Regions from separate parts of the Homo sapiens genome. Here all the other regions are linked to region 5. The links are contacts of gene promoters, found by promoter capture Hi-C in blood cells and fetal thymus (Javierre and others, 2016). All regions are on one chromosome and are shown on one strand. The core of a region is centred on a gene start or on the middle of the fragment in contact, and the rest is flanking DNA. Distances in the headings are between cores, read along the strand shown. Region 1 overlaps KLHDC3 (kelch domain containing 3). Region 2 overlaps CUL9 (cullin 9). Region 3 holds the start of SRF (serum response factor). Region 4 overlaps CUL9 (cullin 9). Region 5 holds the start of LRRC73 (leucine rich repeat containing 73).

Region 1 (2,847 bases), core at 100-2,599, 490 kb before region 5:
GCAGAGCAGAGACAAGAGAATATACCGTTTGGGAAGGGGGCTTCAAGTTTGTGCCAAGCCAGGGACAGAGTGGAGCCTCCACGAGTAGGTTGTGACCATGATATGCAGATTCTGAGCTGGCAATCAGGTGGGGGTGGCCCCACCCTTCACTGTTGGAGAACACTGGGCCCAGGCTGCTCCCTGACCTCGGCAGCTCCCTTGGGGCAGGGCCAGCCACCTGAGCTGAGACTAGTGCCCCTGTGGAGGGGTAGTGTGGGAGGGCCCCCAGGGTGACACTTGGAGGCAAAGGCTGGTTCTGGGCAGAGTCACAGTGAGCTGGGCAGAAGCCTCGCCTGAGGATCCCGTGGCCCCAATTTGTGTGCAGATAGCAGAGGCAGCAGGCCGTGCCGGGGGGGCATGTTGCTGTAACCAGTGGCCCAGGGGATGTTACGGTGGACAGTGCACCTGGAGGGCGGGCCCCGCAGGGTGAACCATGCTGCAGTGGCTGTCGGGCATCGGGTATACTCCTTCGGGGGTTACTGCTCTGGTGAAGACTATGAGACACTGCGTCAGATAGATGTGCACATTTTCAATGCAGGTAAGCCAATGCTGGGGCTGTCCCTGGGTCCCCACATCAGGGTGGGAACGGGCTGCTGATGAGGTTTGGCTGTGGTCTCTGGGACCAAGGGGATTGGGGACAAACATCTGGTTTGGGAAAAGTGGACAGCCTGGAGGGAGGTTCCCAGGGCTGAGCAGAGCTGTGCCCACAGTGTCCTTGCGTTGGACAAAGCTGCCCCCGGTGAAGTCTGCCATCCGTGGGCAAGCTCCTGTGGTACCCTACATGCGCTATGGACACTCAACCGTCCTCATCGACGACACAGTCCTCCTTTGGGGCGGGCGGAATGACACCGAAGGGGCCTGCAATGTGCTCTATGCCTTTGACGTCAGTGAGTATGGATCTCAGAGAGGCTATGTCCTTCCAGATGTTGCCTCAGTTGCCCAAGAAAGGTTTGGGTTGGGGGTCTTGGGGAGTAGAGTACCCCAGAGCTGAGGAGGGACTGTCATAGAGGGTGCTTAGTTGAGCCATTTTCTCATCTCCTTCAGATACGCACAAGTGGTTCACACCCCGAGTGTCAGGGACAGTTCCTGGGGCCCGGGATGGACATTCAGCCTGTGTCCTAGGCAAGATCATGTACATTTTTGGGGGCTACGAGCAGCAGGTAGGTCTGGGAATAAAATAAGAGGTTTAGGGTGGGACTGAGAAAGAGGGGAAGGGCAATTTAGGATGGTGAAATGGGAGGCTTTGGCTTGTTTGCAGGTTTTGAGGGGAGGGATGGAGGGTCAGAGAGTGACCATTGGCTCCCTCTTTTCTTCCTCCTTTTCTCTTCCTACTCAGGCGGACTGTTTTTCCAATGACATTCACAAGCTAGATACCAGCACCATGACATGGACTCTTATCTGTACAAAGGTCTGCTCTTTCTTTTTTTTCCCAAATCCCCACCCTCTGTTGAAGCAATGATAGGAAGCTCAGTCAGAGGAGATCCTCTTCCAGTCTTTGTGCTGACCCCTCCACCATCTCTCTGCCTCTGCCCAGGGCAGCCCTGCACGCTGGAGGGACTTCCACTCAGCCACAATGCTGGGAAGTCACATGTATGTCTTTGGGGGCCGTGCCGACCGCTTTGGGCCATTCCATTCCAACAATGAGATTTACTGCAACCGCATTCGAGTCTTTGACACCAGAACTGAGGCTTGGCTGGACTGTCCCCCGACTCCAGTGCTGCCTGAGGGGCGCCGGAGCCACTCGGCCTGTGAGTGTTTGTTACTTCCCTGTGGAGTTCCCTTCCTGCCCTCTTCACACTCCTGACACTTCCTCTCTCCTTCCAGTTGGCTACAATGGGGAGCTGTACATCTTTGGTGGTTATAATGCAAGGCTGAACCGGCACTTCCATGACCTCTGGAAGTTTAATCCTGGTAAAGAGCACTGCATTTAGGGCAGGAACAAGGAGCAATTGAGGTGGGAGGAAAAGAAAATAATCCTGAGGCGGTGAGGGATGGGGGTGGGGAAGATACCTGGACTAGGCAGGTATTGAACTTCCATATAAATTTCTCTTCAGTGTCCTTTACCTGGAAAAAGATTGAACCGAAGGGGAAGGGGCCATGTCCCCGCCGGCGCCAGTGCTGCTGTATTGTTGGTGACAAGATTGTCCTCTTTGGGGGTACCAGGTTAGAAGGAGAGAGGGAAGGGGCTCAGGGAAGTCACTAATGGGAGAGTGGGAGGTATTTGAAAAGGGGGTTTCGTGGGTAGTTTTTGTCCTACTTTCATCTCTCTTTTGATCCCGACAGTCCATCTCCTGAGGAAGGCCTGGGAGATGAATTTGACCTTATAGATCATTCTGACTTACACATTTTGGACTTTAGTAAGTATAGTTATTCCTGAATTGCTCCTGCCATCAAGGTCCCTGTCTTTGGGTGGTGATATCCAGGACTGGATCCTTTCCTCACCTTTGACCATCTCCTTTCCACAACTTCTCCCTTAAAGGCCCTAGTCTGAAGACTCTGTGCAAACTGGCCGTGATTCAGTATAACCTAGACCAGTCCTGTTTGCCTCATGATATCAGGTACAGCGAGTGGTTGGAAGGGAGGGATTGAGTGAGGGTGAGTGAGCAGCACAGGTGTGACCTGATTAGCTTGGTTTCAGTATGGAGGAGACAGACATTTTTGTTCTGCTGGAGATGTAGTGTACTTGTGGGAAATGAGATGGAAGGAGGTGAATTGACAGCCATCATATAAAACTGTCAGCAGAATAAATTATATGAAAAAAAAATACAGCTCGGCAGCATCACTTTCTGAGACCTAAGCTTATACAGT
Region 2 (2,700 bases), core at 100-2,599, 320 kb before region 5:
GGAGGAGTCCTGCTGGGGGTTGGAGGCAAGTGCTGTGAGGGTCTAGTATGTAGAAGGTGTGGGGGCATGGTAGGGAGTGATCACCCTTCCCATTACTGACCCCAAGACCTTTGTGTCTGCTTGTCTCTTAAACGTATACCCCTTCTGTTGACAGACCCTGGGTGAAAAGGCCCTAGGTGAGATCTCTGTGTCCGTGGAAATGGCCGAGAGTCTGCTGCAGGTTCTCAGTAGTCGATTTGAGGGCAGCACTCTCAATGACCTGCTCAACTCCCAGATCTACACCAAGTATGGGCTGCTGTCTAATGAACCAAGCAGCTCGTCTACTTCACGAAATCACTCCTGTACCCCAGATCCAGAAGAGGAGTCCAAGTCGGAGGCCAGCTTCTCAGAGGAAGAGACTGAGTCCCTCAAAGCAAAGGCCGAGGCCCCTAAGACAGAGGCCGAGCCCACCAAGACAAGGACCGAGACCCCCATGGCACAGAGTGATTCTCAGCTGTTTAACCAGCTTCTGGTGACTGAGGGGATGACCCTGCCCACTGAGATGAAGGAGGCAGCCAGTGGTGAGTCAGGTTCTGGGAGGAAGCAATTGGAACAAGTCCTGGGTAGTCTCAGTAGAAGAAATGGATAGTCAGGATCGAAGGAAAGCCATGGAGGAAGGTGATTTTTGCAGGGGAAAATGCCTTGGAACCATGCGTCCATCTTCTTCCTTTTGACCTTGATTGTATTTAATTAACCAGCGCTCCCTTCCTTCAGTATCTCTGGAAAAGGAGGATCCGTTTTCTGGGGTGTCTTCATCTCCTTTGTTTGATCATTAGATCCCTGACACAGAATTGGAAAACTCTGCAAGCTGCAGTAGCCGATAATGTGTTTAAATATTGGTAGGATAACTGGGCTTGACTTTAAAGACTTCTAACTTCAAGGTGCCACAGTTCTTTTAGCCATTGCCTTTTCCCACCAATTTCAGAAATGGCCAGAGCCTTGCGGGGTCCCGGTCCTCGCAGCTCCCTGGATCAGCATGTGGCAGCGGTCGTGGCCACTGTGCAGATATCCAGCTTGGACACAAACCTGCAGCTTTCAGGGCTCTCTGCCCTCTCTCAGGCTGTGGAGGAGGTCACTGAGCGGGACCACCCTCTGGTCCGTCCTGACAGATCGCTGAGGTTAGCATACTGGGGAGGGAAGAGGTTTTGGTTGAAGCTGTAGGCAAAGGATGGTGGTAGCGGGGAAGGAGCTTTGAGATCACGAATTAGAAAAGCTTGGGGTGAGGGAAGGCTCAGCCTGAGGAGCAGCCGAGCAGGAGGGTTGGATGTTTTAATGGCTCGTATTCTTGGAGCACTTCTGTTATGCCAGGCACTGTGCTAGTATTTTACATGCATTCTCTCATTAAATCCACCTAACACCTGAGGAAGCGTTGGTAATATTATTATCCTACTATATGGGTGAGGAAACTGAAGCTTAGAGAATTTAAGTAACTTGCTTAGAGTTTTACAGATAGCAGAGCCAGGATTCAAACCTAGGTCTTTTTGGCTCTAGAACTGGAGTTTTTTCTCTTTCTTTTTCTTTTTTTTCTGTCCCTACGTACTTTTTTTTTTTCACATTAGACCTTAAAACCTACTTTATTTTAAATTTTTTTCTACCTTTATTTATTTATTTTTGAGACAGTCTTGCTATGTCGTCATGCTGGAGTGCAGTGGCGCGATCTCGGCTCACTGCAACCTCTGCCTCCCGGGTTCAAGGGATTCTCCCGCCTCAGCCTCCCAAGTAGCTGGGATTACAGGCACCACCACACCCAGCTAATTTTTGTACTTTTAGTAGAGACAGGGTTTCATCATGTTTGCCAGGATGGTCTCGATCTTCTGACCTCGTGATCTGCCTGCCTCGGCCTCCCAAAGTGCTGGGATTGCAGGCGTGAGCCACCGCGTCCAGCCCTCTACTTTTAAATTATACAAATAACACACAACTTATTCTCATTCTATTTATTTATTTTTATTTATTTACTTGTTTTTGAGACAGAGTCTCACTCTGTCACCCAGGCTAGAGTGCAATAGTGTGATCTTGGCTCACTGCAACCTCCGCCTCCTGGGTTCAAGCAGTTCTTATGTCTCAGCCTCCCAAGTAGCTGGGATTACAGGTGCCCACCACCAGGCCCAGCTAATTTTTGTATTTTAGTAGAGACGGGGTTTCACCCTGTTGGCCAGGCTGGTCTCGAACTCCTAACCTCAGATGATCCAGTCTCCCAAAGTGCTGGGATTACAGGTGTGAGCCACCATGCCCAGCCGCATTCTCATTTTAAAAGATCTGAAGAATGTAAAAGGACATAGGAGGGCCAAAGTCCTTTCTCACCACTGTTATCAGTCTACTATATCCTACAGATTTGCATTTGTAATTGTGTGTTTGGAAATAGAGCATTTTCTGAGTCTTTGTTTTAGTCTATGTAATCACATTCTACATGTTTCTACAACTTTTTTTTTTTTGCCCCCGCTCAGTGTCTTAGAGGGCTTTCCATATCAGTCTGGGTGGAGCTGCCTCATTATTTTTACTGCTGCATGGGACCCTGCAGTGTGGTTATCTCCAGTTTCAAGTGCAGTGTTCTAACGCGTCTGTTTTTCCTTACGTCTGCCAACACTGAATATTGTCGTCTTTTTTAATCTATCTAATTGGCAGCATTTTAAATGATTGGTATCTCTTTGTTTTAATTTCCTA
Region 3 (2,700 bases), core at 82-2,581, 340 kb before region 5:
CCCAGAGCTTGAACCTCACTTTGCAGCACCCCAGTTCTAATCTTTTAAGTTTTTTTTTTTTTTTTTTTTTTTTTCTGCTGGGCACGGTGGTTCATGCCTATAATCCCAGCACTTTGGGAAGCCGAGGGGGAAGGATCGCTTGAGGCCAGGAGTTCGAAACCAGTCTGGGCAACATGGCAAAACCCCATCTCTACAAAAAATACAAAAATTAGGCCAGAGTGGTGGCGCGCACCTGTAGTTCCAGCTACGTGAGAGGCGGAGGTGGGAGAATCGCTTGAACCCGGGAGGCAGAGGTTGCAATGAGCTCAGATCCCGCCACTGCACTCCAGGTTGGGCGACAGAGCGATACCCTGTGTGAAACTTTTTTTTTTTTCTCCAACGGGCTTTCCAGAGAAGTGTGTGTATGTGCGTGTGTGTGCGCGAGCGTGCTTGCTTGGGCTTAAACTTTCTGTCGGGCCACACTTTCCCAAGTCTTTGCACTGGCTGTAGGGTGGGCTTTATCCTCGGGACGTCCTCCTCCCCAAGTCCAGCCTGCAGCTGGAAGTCTTCACTGATCTCCATCTCTCCTCCCTGATCTCCGTCTCTCCTCCCTGCCCGCCTCAGGACTGGGAGGCCGATCTCTCTCTCTCGCCCTCCCCTCCACCAGCCTTTTCCAGATGTATGTCTGCCAAAGACCCCCCAGTGCAGAGGATGATGAATGAAGATCCTCGAGCCAGCCCGGTGGGAAAGTTTCGTCGCCTACAAAAGCGAGGGAAAGGGAAGGGAAGTTGGGGGTAGGGGAAAAGTTAGAGCTGAGAGGCTGGGGCGCGACGAGTCTGGACACCGGGCGGGGACCCAAGCTCTCTCCGCTCAGCCAATAACTGTGCCTCCCTTAGGAAGGCGTGAGGAAATGCTCCAATCAATCCCTGCACTCCTCCCTTGGAATTTGGGCTGTATTTTTTTATTTACTGCAAACCCCACAATCCACCCAGGGGTTTCCCCAGTGTTTGCCTCCAGCGGTCCCGGTGCCCATTTACTAGTGCTGCTCCCTCTCTTCCGCAAGACTGCGCTCCAGTCCCAGCCTCCTTCTCCGCGGGTGCCTCCCAAACCGTTCTATCATTCTCGGGTTCAGGGAGGCGGAATCGTGCCTGCTCTCCGGTTCCTTTAAGAGGCGTCGGCTCCACCCCTCTCAGAGTCGCGGTCTGACGCGAGATGACAGCAACGAGTTCGGTATGTCTATGCAAATAAGCGCCCTCTTGTGGGCCAATGGGGAGCGGAGGTGCCGGAACCACGGACCAATGGGGCGGGGGCGCTGGGGCTCACCATATAAGGAGCGGCCTCGCCATAAAAGGAAACATTGTATCTCTTTATATGGGGGGAAGGGTCGGGGGATCCCTCCGCCGCCAGCGCGTGGTCCCGGCCCCCTCCACCCGCCGTCTCGGCCGCGGCCAGCAGCCCCTGCCCCCCGGGGGACGCTGACGGCCGCCCGGCGCGCCGCCCTAGCAGACGGACAGGGGGCGCTGCGCGCGGCCTGGGGCAACCCGGGCCACAGGGGCAGGAAAGTGAGGGCCCAGGTCGGCCCGGGCGTGCAGGGGCCCCGGGTTCGCAGCGGCGGCCGCGGCAGCGATAGCGGCACTAGCAGCAGCGGGAGTGCCGGGTTGAGCCGGGAAGCCGATGGCGGCGGCTGCGGCGGCTCCGATTCCTCGCTGACTGCCCGTCCGCCCTCCTGCATCGAGCGCCATGTTACCGACCCAAGCTGGGGCCGCGGCGGCTCTGGGCCGGGGCTCGGCCCTGGGGGGCAGCCTGAACCGGACCCCGACGGGGCGGCCGGGCGGCGGCGGCGGGACACGCGGGGCTAACGGGGGCCGGGTCCCCGGGAATGGCGCGGGGCTCGGGCCCGGCCGCCTGGAGCGGGAGGCTGCGGCAGCGGCGGCAACCACCCCGGCGCCCACCGCGGGGGCCCTCTACAGCGGCAGCGAGGGCGACTCGGAGTCGGGCGAGGAGGAGGAGCTGGGCGCCGAGCGGCGCGGCCTGAAGCGGAGCCTGAGCGAGATGGAGATCGGTATGGTGGTCGGTGGGCCCGAGGCGTCGGCAGCGGCCACCGGGGGCTACGGGCCGGTGAGCGGCGCGGTGAGCGGGGCCAAGCCGGGTAAGAAGACCCGGGGCCGCGTGAAGATCAAGATGGAGTTCATCGACAACAAGCTGCGGCGCTACACGACCTTCAGCAAGAGGAAGACGGGCATCATGAAGAAGGTACCAAGCCGGGGGGCTGGCCGGCCCCGGGGCCCGGTTGGGGTGGGGATGTGCAAAGGGAGCCCGGGAGGACCGCAGAGCCGAGGCGGAGGTGAGAGGCTGCGAGTCCGCAGGAGGTGTGTGGGAGGGGATGGCTCCTGCCCGGGGAGGGCCGAAGGGGAGGGGCCGCCGGGGAAATGTGGGGAGAGGGGAGATCCCGCGAACGCTCGCAACCGTGGGGAAAGGCGCAGAGGTGGGAGTGACCGGCGCCAGAGAGGAAGAGGGCCCTTGCTGAGTGAAGGGGTGAGGAGCGGTGATGGGAGGCTACGAGGCTGCCGGGGAGGTGGATAATGAGAACCCGGGATCAGTAGGTCCAGTGCACTCCGGTGTTCGGACGAGGGCGCCGGAAAAGCAGGGAGCAAACGAGAAGGTATGGAGGTGAGGAGGCTGGAGCTGCATGACAACAATGAGCGAACATGTGTGGGAGGA
Region 4 (2,700 bases), core at 157-2,656, 300 kb before region 5:
ATTTGAGTCTTATAGGGGAGATGAGAAAAGAGGCTGTGTAGAGGAGAGATTAAGATGTGGAGATGGCTGGCCAGGCGCGGTGGCTCACGCATGTAATCCCAGCATTCTGGCAGGCAGATCACCTGAGGTCAGGAGTTCAAGACCAGCCTGACCAACATGGTGAAACCCTTTCTCTACTAAAAATACAAAAATTAGCCAGGTGTGGTGGCGTGGTGGCAGGCACCTGTAATCCCAGCTATTCGGGAGGGTGAGGCAGGTGAATCTCTTGAACCCGGGAGGCAGAGGTTGCAGTGAGCCAAGACCACGTCATTGCACTTCAGCCTGGGTGACAAGAGCAAGACTCCGTCTCAAAAAAAAAAAAAAAAAGTGGAGGTGGTCATGCATTGGTGGAAAGGGAGTGGGAAAGAAGAGGTGAGGTAGGGTATGTGACTCAGGCAGAGGGACAGAGGGACCTACATTCTCGAGGGGGAGGCTGGGCCACGCTGGCACCCACACTGAGGCTTGGCCCGGGCTGTGTGTGCTGCAGGCATTATATGGCGGACCGTCTCCTGAGCTTTGGTTCGAGCTGGCTGGAGGGGGCTGTGCTAGAGCAGATTGGCCTCTGTTTTCCCAACCGCCTCCCACAGCTGATGCTGCAGAGCCTGAGCACCTCTGAGGAGCTGCAGCGCCAGTTCCACCTCTTCCAGCTCCAGCGGCTCGACAAGTTGTTCTTGGAGCAGGAAGATGAGGAGGAAAAGAGACTAGAGGAAGAGGAGGTAAGAGCAGGGAGAATAGGAGAGTGAGAGAAGACTAGACCAAGGAAGGGAGCCCAAGGGCCCTTGAAATCCTTCTGTCCCTCAGGAGGAAGAGGAGGAAGAGGAAGCTGAGAAAGAATTATTTATCGAAGATCCAAGTCCAGCCATTTCTATACTGGTCCTGTCACCACGCTGCTGGCCCGTCTCCCCACTCTGCTACCTGTACCATCCCAGAAAGTGCCTTCCCACAGAATTCTGTGATGCCCTTGACCGTTTCTCCAGTTTCTACAGCCAGAGTGAGGAACTAGGGAGAGGAAATTGGAGATCGGGGTGAGATTCGGGGTGGCAAGAGAGGAAGAGGAGAGGACCTTTGGACAGGATATAGATGTGAAGAAAAATATCAGCTCCTAGCGAGGGATGAGAAAGCATGGGTTGTAGTTTCATTAATTTCTGCTCTCATCAGTTTCTTCAACTTTCTATGAATTTGTTCTGTTTTCTTTTTCTAACTTCAAGTGAGGTGCTTATTTGATTTTTAGTCTTTTCAGACTTTTTTCCAAATAAAAGTGTTTAAGACTATTCATTTCCCTCTCAATACTGCTTTAGTGGCATCCTATAAAGTTTTAAAAGATTTTTTTTCTTTATTTTTTTGACATGGAGTCTCACTCTGTCACCCAGACCAGAGTGCAGTGGTGTAATCTCTGCTCACTGCAGCCTCTACCTCCCGGGTTCAAGCGATTCTCCTGTCTCAGCCTCCCAAGTAGCTGGGACTACAGGCGTATGCCACCACACCCGGCTAATTGTGTATTTTTAGTAGTGACGGGGTTTCACCATGTTAACCAGGCTGGTCTCAAACTCCTGACCTCAGGTGATCCACCCGCCTCAGTGAGCCACTGTGCCCGGCCAAAAAGATTTTTTAGATTGGGATATAACTAGTATTCAGTAAAGTGCACACGTCTTAATTATAAGGCTTCATGAATTATTATATTCATATACACCCATGTATCTACCTCCCTCATACCCCCATCAAGATACAGAACATTTCCAGCATCGTAGAAGGCTGTCTCCTTCATGCCCCCTTTCCAGTCAATGTCTTCTTCCAGGAGAAATCATTATTTTTAACCTTTATCACCATAGATTTGTGCCTGTATTTGAACATCATATAAATGGAATCATACAGTATTCTGCTGTGTCTGATGTCTTTCACGAAACATACTGTCTGTGAGGGTTATTCAGGTTGTCAAGGGTATCATTAGTTTATTCATTTATTTTGCTGAGTCATATTCCATTGTATGGATGTATTTACCCTTTCTGCTGTTTATGGGCATTTGGGATGTTCTGTAAGTTTTTATTACGTATTATTTTTATTATTGTTTAGTTCTAAGAATTGTTAAATTTCTATTATTATTTCTTTATTTTGTTTTTCAGAAGAATATATATTTTAATTTCCAAACAAGTTTTTCTTTGTTTAATTTTTTTTTGTTTTATATTTCTAACCTCATTCCCCTGTGGCCAAAGAGCATGGTTTCTATGATTCTGAATCTTTGCAGTTTATTGAGACTTCGTTATGGCCTGGTAGATGGTCATATTTTACCTGTTTCATGTATGATTAAGAAGAATGTGTATTCTTAACTGGATTCTACATATTTCACCAAATTGACCTTGTTAATTGTTTTGTTCACATCTTCTGTAAAGTTACTAGTTTTTGTCTACTTGATCTACTACTGAGAGAGGTGTGCTAAAATCTACCACTATGATGGTGAATTTTTTAAAACCGCTAATCATACTGGTTTAACTGTATATATATTTTTTGGCTATTTTGTTAGAAGGTTAAAATAGTTTAACAGTGCTATCCAGTAGAACTTTCTGCAATGATTGAAAAATTCTTTTCTGCACCGTTCAGTATGATAGTCATTGGTGGCAATTAAGTACTTGGAATGTGGCTAATATAACTGAGGAACTAAATAAT
Region 5 (2,861 bases), core at 167-2,666:
AGTGAGAGAGCAGGGTTACTGCAGTCCTCCGCACTATCTACATGGGAAAGGGGCACTTTCACTTCTGTCAGCCCTAGGTATGGGGAGGGCAGTCACAGCGCTTGAGAGGCCTGGAAAAGGAGAAGGAAAGTTCTAGATTCTCAGGGAATACAGATAGAGGGAGAATTCGGTTTGTTTTCTGGGGCAGGGATCCAGGACATTGCACAGGGAGGGGCAGAGAAGGGGTGGGTGGGTGGTGGACCGGAACTCTGCAGTGGGCAGGGCTCTCGTCCCCACGGGGATATTCCCCCTTGGGAACCAAGGAGCTGCCCCAGTGAAGTAAATGCAGATGATTAGGTGGGGAGGTACGGCCCCCACCTCATGTCAGGAACTGGTGGGTATCCCAACACGGCTAGGGTCGCGCGTGCAAAGTCCAAGCATGTGCTTGGAGGGTGCTGTGAAGGCATGGGCCGAGGCACGGTGTATGTGCATAAGGCATGTGAAGGTAGGATGGTACTGGAAGGAGTGTGGAGGAACAGGAGGTGCCAGGGGAGTGTATGGAAGGGTGCAGTGCCCGGGACCCCCTTGCGAGGGGGCGCACTCACAAGAGGGACTGGATGGAGCGGTTGGTCCGCAGAGCCTCAGCCAGCTGCTTGATGCGGCTGGGGCTGGACACGACGCCCAGGTTAAGGTTGAGCTGCGCCAGGGACGTGGCCCCGGCCAGGGCCCGGCAGATGCGGCCAAAGTCGCGGTCGCAGAGGCGGCAGCCGCGCAGTGAGAGCAGGCGCACGGCGTTGTCGCGAAGGCCGCGGCAGATGTCCCGCACCTCGGCGCCGGACAGCGGCTCCCCCGAAATCTGGATGGAGCTGGGCAGCATCGTGCCCACGGCTGGGCCTCCGGGTACGGGGCCGGAACGGAGGTTGGTGGGGCCGCGGGCGGGGCCGGGGATAGGGCCGGGGTCGGGGCCCCGGCAGGGGTCGCGGGCGGAGTGGGGCCGGGGGTGGAGGCGGCGGCTGTGGCGGAGGCTGCGGCTGCGGCGGAGGCTGCGGCGGGGGCGGAGAAGAGCTACCGGGACTGAGCCGGAGCCGGCCAGAGGTGCGGAGGCGTCCAGGGCGCGGGCCGGGCTGAAGTGGGGCGGCGCTGGGGCGGGGGCGGCCCGCACGGTCCGTGTCTGGGCGTTGGGGCGGGTGCGCGTTCCGGGGGTTGGGCAGGCGCTGCTCGGCGCTTGTCCTTGTCCCTCGCGGTCGCGGCGGCGGCGGCGGCAGCGGCAGCGAGCGGCTCAAGGGCTTCGGCTTACCGGTCTCGGCTAGGAGGCCGTACCCGCTCCCTCCTTCTCTGCCGCCCGGCTCCCCCCGACCACCCCGCGGGCCTGGCCGCACGGCTGGCAGAGAGAGCCTGAGGCGGGCGGCTGGCGGCAGCTCCGGCTCCAGCTCCAGAGAGCGAGCGGGCGGCGAGTTCCCATGGCAACGGCCGCGTCACCGGCGCTCGCCCCGCCCCCTGCCCGGCCAAGGCCACGCCGGCCCGCGAGGTTCGCGTACACTGGGTGGTTCGGGGCAAGGAGCTGGGAGCGATAGGCCGCTCTTCCCTTGGGAGTGGGGTCAGCCAACTGGCAGGCGGCAGGCGGCAGGGCTGAGTGGGTAGGGCTGACGGGGAGCGGAATGGAGGCACGCCCCGTGGAGATGGCGTTGGGCACGGTTACTGCTGCTTCTGCCCATTCTTCCATCCTTCCCCGTTCCTAAGGTCCATACCCCCGCCGGAATCCAGGGCACTGTTCCCTCCTATTTGGAAGGCCCCAGGGCCCTTTCATCCGCGCCGCGCCTCGCTCCCGCCCCCGTGACTCGAGGCGCAGCGTGCGTGGTGATCCCGGCCCATGGGGACTTCCCCGCTTGCTCCTCGCCAAGATGGCGGCCTCATCAGGGAGGCCCCAGGGGCCACGGCTGGGCAGAGCCAGCTTGAGCTGCTGGGGAGAAGGGTACCCCATAGGGTCCCTAGGGCAGGGGAGCCTCAGATAGATGCAAGGTCCTGGTGCCACACCTTCTCAGGTACGCAGGGCACTGTTGACATCTGAGGGTGTGTCCGTGCCGCGAGACTGGGGCAGCCAATACAAAGAAGGTGCCAGGGCCAGGGCCCTGGAGCACTGGTGAGGACGTGAAGGCGGCTGAGCCACACTGCACGGTGCAGGCGGTGCTGTCTCAACTTTGTCCTCTGGCCAGGGTGGTGGGGGACTCACTTGTGTAACGCAGGACAAATGAAGGGCACCTCTGTTTGTCCCTTTGTTAGGAGGGATAGATGCTGCTGACCCAGATTTACTAGTGTTAAGATGATTATTTTACATAAAATATAATATTCAATATAGTGAAGGGAGGTCAAAGGCCCTATTCCCACTCTTAGCCACCTGAATTAACTTATTAAGTGGAGCATATTAAAGAGGTGGTGGGGGTGGATGGTGCTATGTTAGGAGTGGTGGTTGGTTTTAAGAGGAAAGACAGAAAAACTAAAAGGAGCTGGCCCCAGTACCACCAAGGCAAAGCCAAATTTGGCTTCAATTAAGAGCTCCACAGGAAAATTATCAACACAATGCCCAGGTGCAGAAGATCCTTGTTTTGACACGGGGTTTAAGTCGGGATGTTTTGTTCAATTGTCACTGCTTCCTTGGCTTCCCAAGAGAGCAGCTGAGCCCAGACTCAAGCTGGCTGCAGTGTTCCATCAGGCTTATGGCTTTTGTGCTTGAGGCCTCCCTGCCGCTTCATGGGTCAGGTGTGATATTCAATCACTGCCTTCTATGTAGTCTGGCCTGTCCCACCTTTATCTTGCCTGGGTGAGGATATGAAGAAGGGAACATATGACATTACCACTGTTGACTGAGTAGGAAAGTATATAGG

The links. The method cuts DNA at HindIII sites, captures the fragments that hold promoters and counts their contacts. A CHiCAGO score of 5 or more calls a contact.
Region 1: a contact is called between a fragment that was not itself captured here and the fragment with the promoter of LRRC73 in region 5, in 1 of 17 cell types (naive B cells). The highest score is 5.6, in naive B cells.
Region 2: a fragment that was not itself captured here is called in contact with the fragment with the promoter of LRRC73 in region 5 in 10 of 17 cell types (naive B cells, endothelial precursors, total B cells and 7 more); the score reaches 7.1 in naive B cells.
Region 3: the fragment with the promoter of SRF here is called in contact with the fragment with the promoter of LRRC73 in region 5 in 8 of 17 cell types (megakaryocytes, endothelial precursors, erythroblasts and 5 more); the score reaches 6.2 in megakaryocytes.
Region 4: a fragment that was not itself captured here is called in contact with the fragment with the promoter of LRRC73 in region 5 in 1 of 17 cell types (naive B cells); the score reaches 5.8 in naive B cells.

What each region holds. Positions count from the first base shown.
Region 1 is chr6:43,016,770-43,019,616 of GRCh38, forward strand. It overlaps KLHDC3 (kelch domain containing 3), which reads left to right. Exons shown (of 11, transcript NM_057161.4): 2 at 365-577; 3 at 750-926; 4 at 1,084-1,199; 5 at 1,376-1,447; 6 at 1,574-1,787; 7 at 1,864-1,950; 8 at 2,094-2,202; 9 at 2,323-2,396; 10 at 2,519-2,597. The coding sequence starts at 424. It also overlaps a transcript of MEA1 not described here. Among named protein-coding and RNA genes, the nearest start is that of RRP36, 3.4 kb to the right of the region's middle. The HindIII fragment of the contact is 2,971 bases long and covers 1-2,835 here.
Region 2 is chr6:43,187,559-43,190,258 of GRCh38, forward strand. It overlaps CUL9 (cullin 9), which reads left to right. Exons shown (of 41, transcript NM_015089.4): 7 at 155-560; 8 at 965-1,157. Among named protein-coding and RNA genes, the nearest start is that of CUL9, 6.7 kb to the left of the region's middle. RefSeq lists an enhancer at 1-21. The HindIII fragment of the contact is 199 bases long and covers 1,251-1,449 here.
Region 3 is chr6:43,169,938-43,172,637 of GRCh38, forward strand. It overlaps SRF (serum response factor), which reads left to right and starts at 1,332. Exons shown (of 7, transcript NM_003131.4): 1 at 1,332-2,232. The coding sequence starts at 1,720. RefSeq lists enhancers at 536-1,265, 2,292-2,700, 2,551-2,700 and a silencer at 1,241-1,820. The HindIII fragment of the contact is 6,652 bases long and covers 1-2,700 here.
Region 4 is chr6:43,205,481-43,208,180 of GRCh38, forward strand. CUL9 (cullin 9) reads left to right here. Exons shown (of 41, transcript NM_015089.4): 25 at 527-755; 26 at 841-1,030. Among named protein-coding and RNA genes, the nearest start is that of DNPH1, 23 kb to the right of the region's middle. The HindIII fragment of the contact is 3,481 bases long and covers 1-2,700 here.
Region 5 is chr6:43,508,930-43,511,790 of GRCh38, forward strand. LRRC73 (leucine rich repeat containing 73) reads right to left here and starts at 1,417. Exons shown (of 6, transcript NM_001012974.4): 1 at 585-1,417. The coding sequence starts at 856. RefSeq lists silencers at 995-1,264, 1,285-1,574. The HindIII fragment of the contact is 9,076 bases long and covers 1-2,861 here.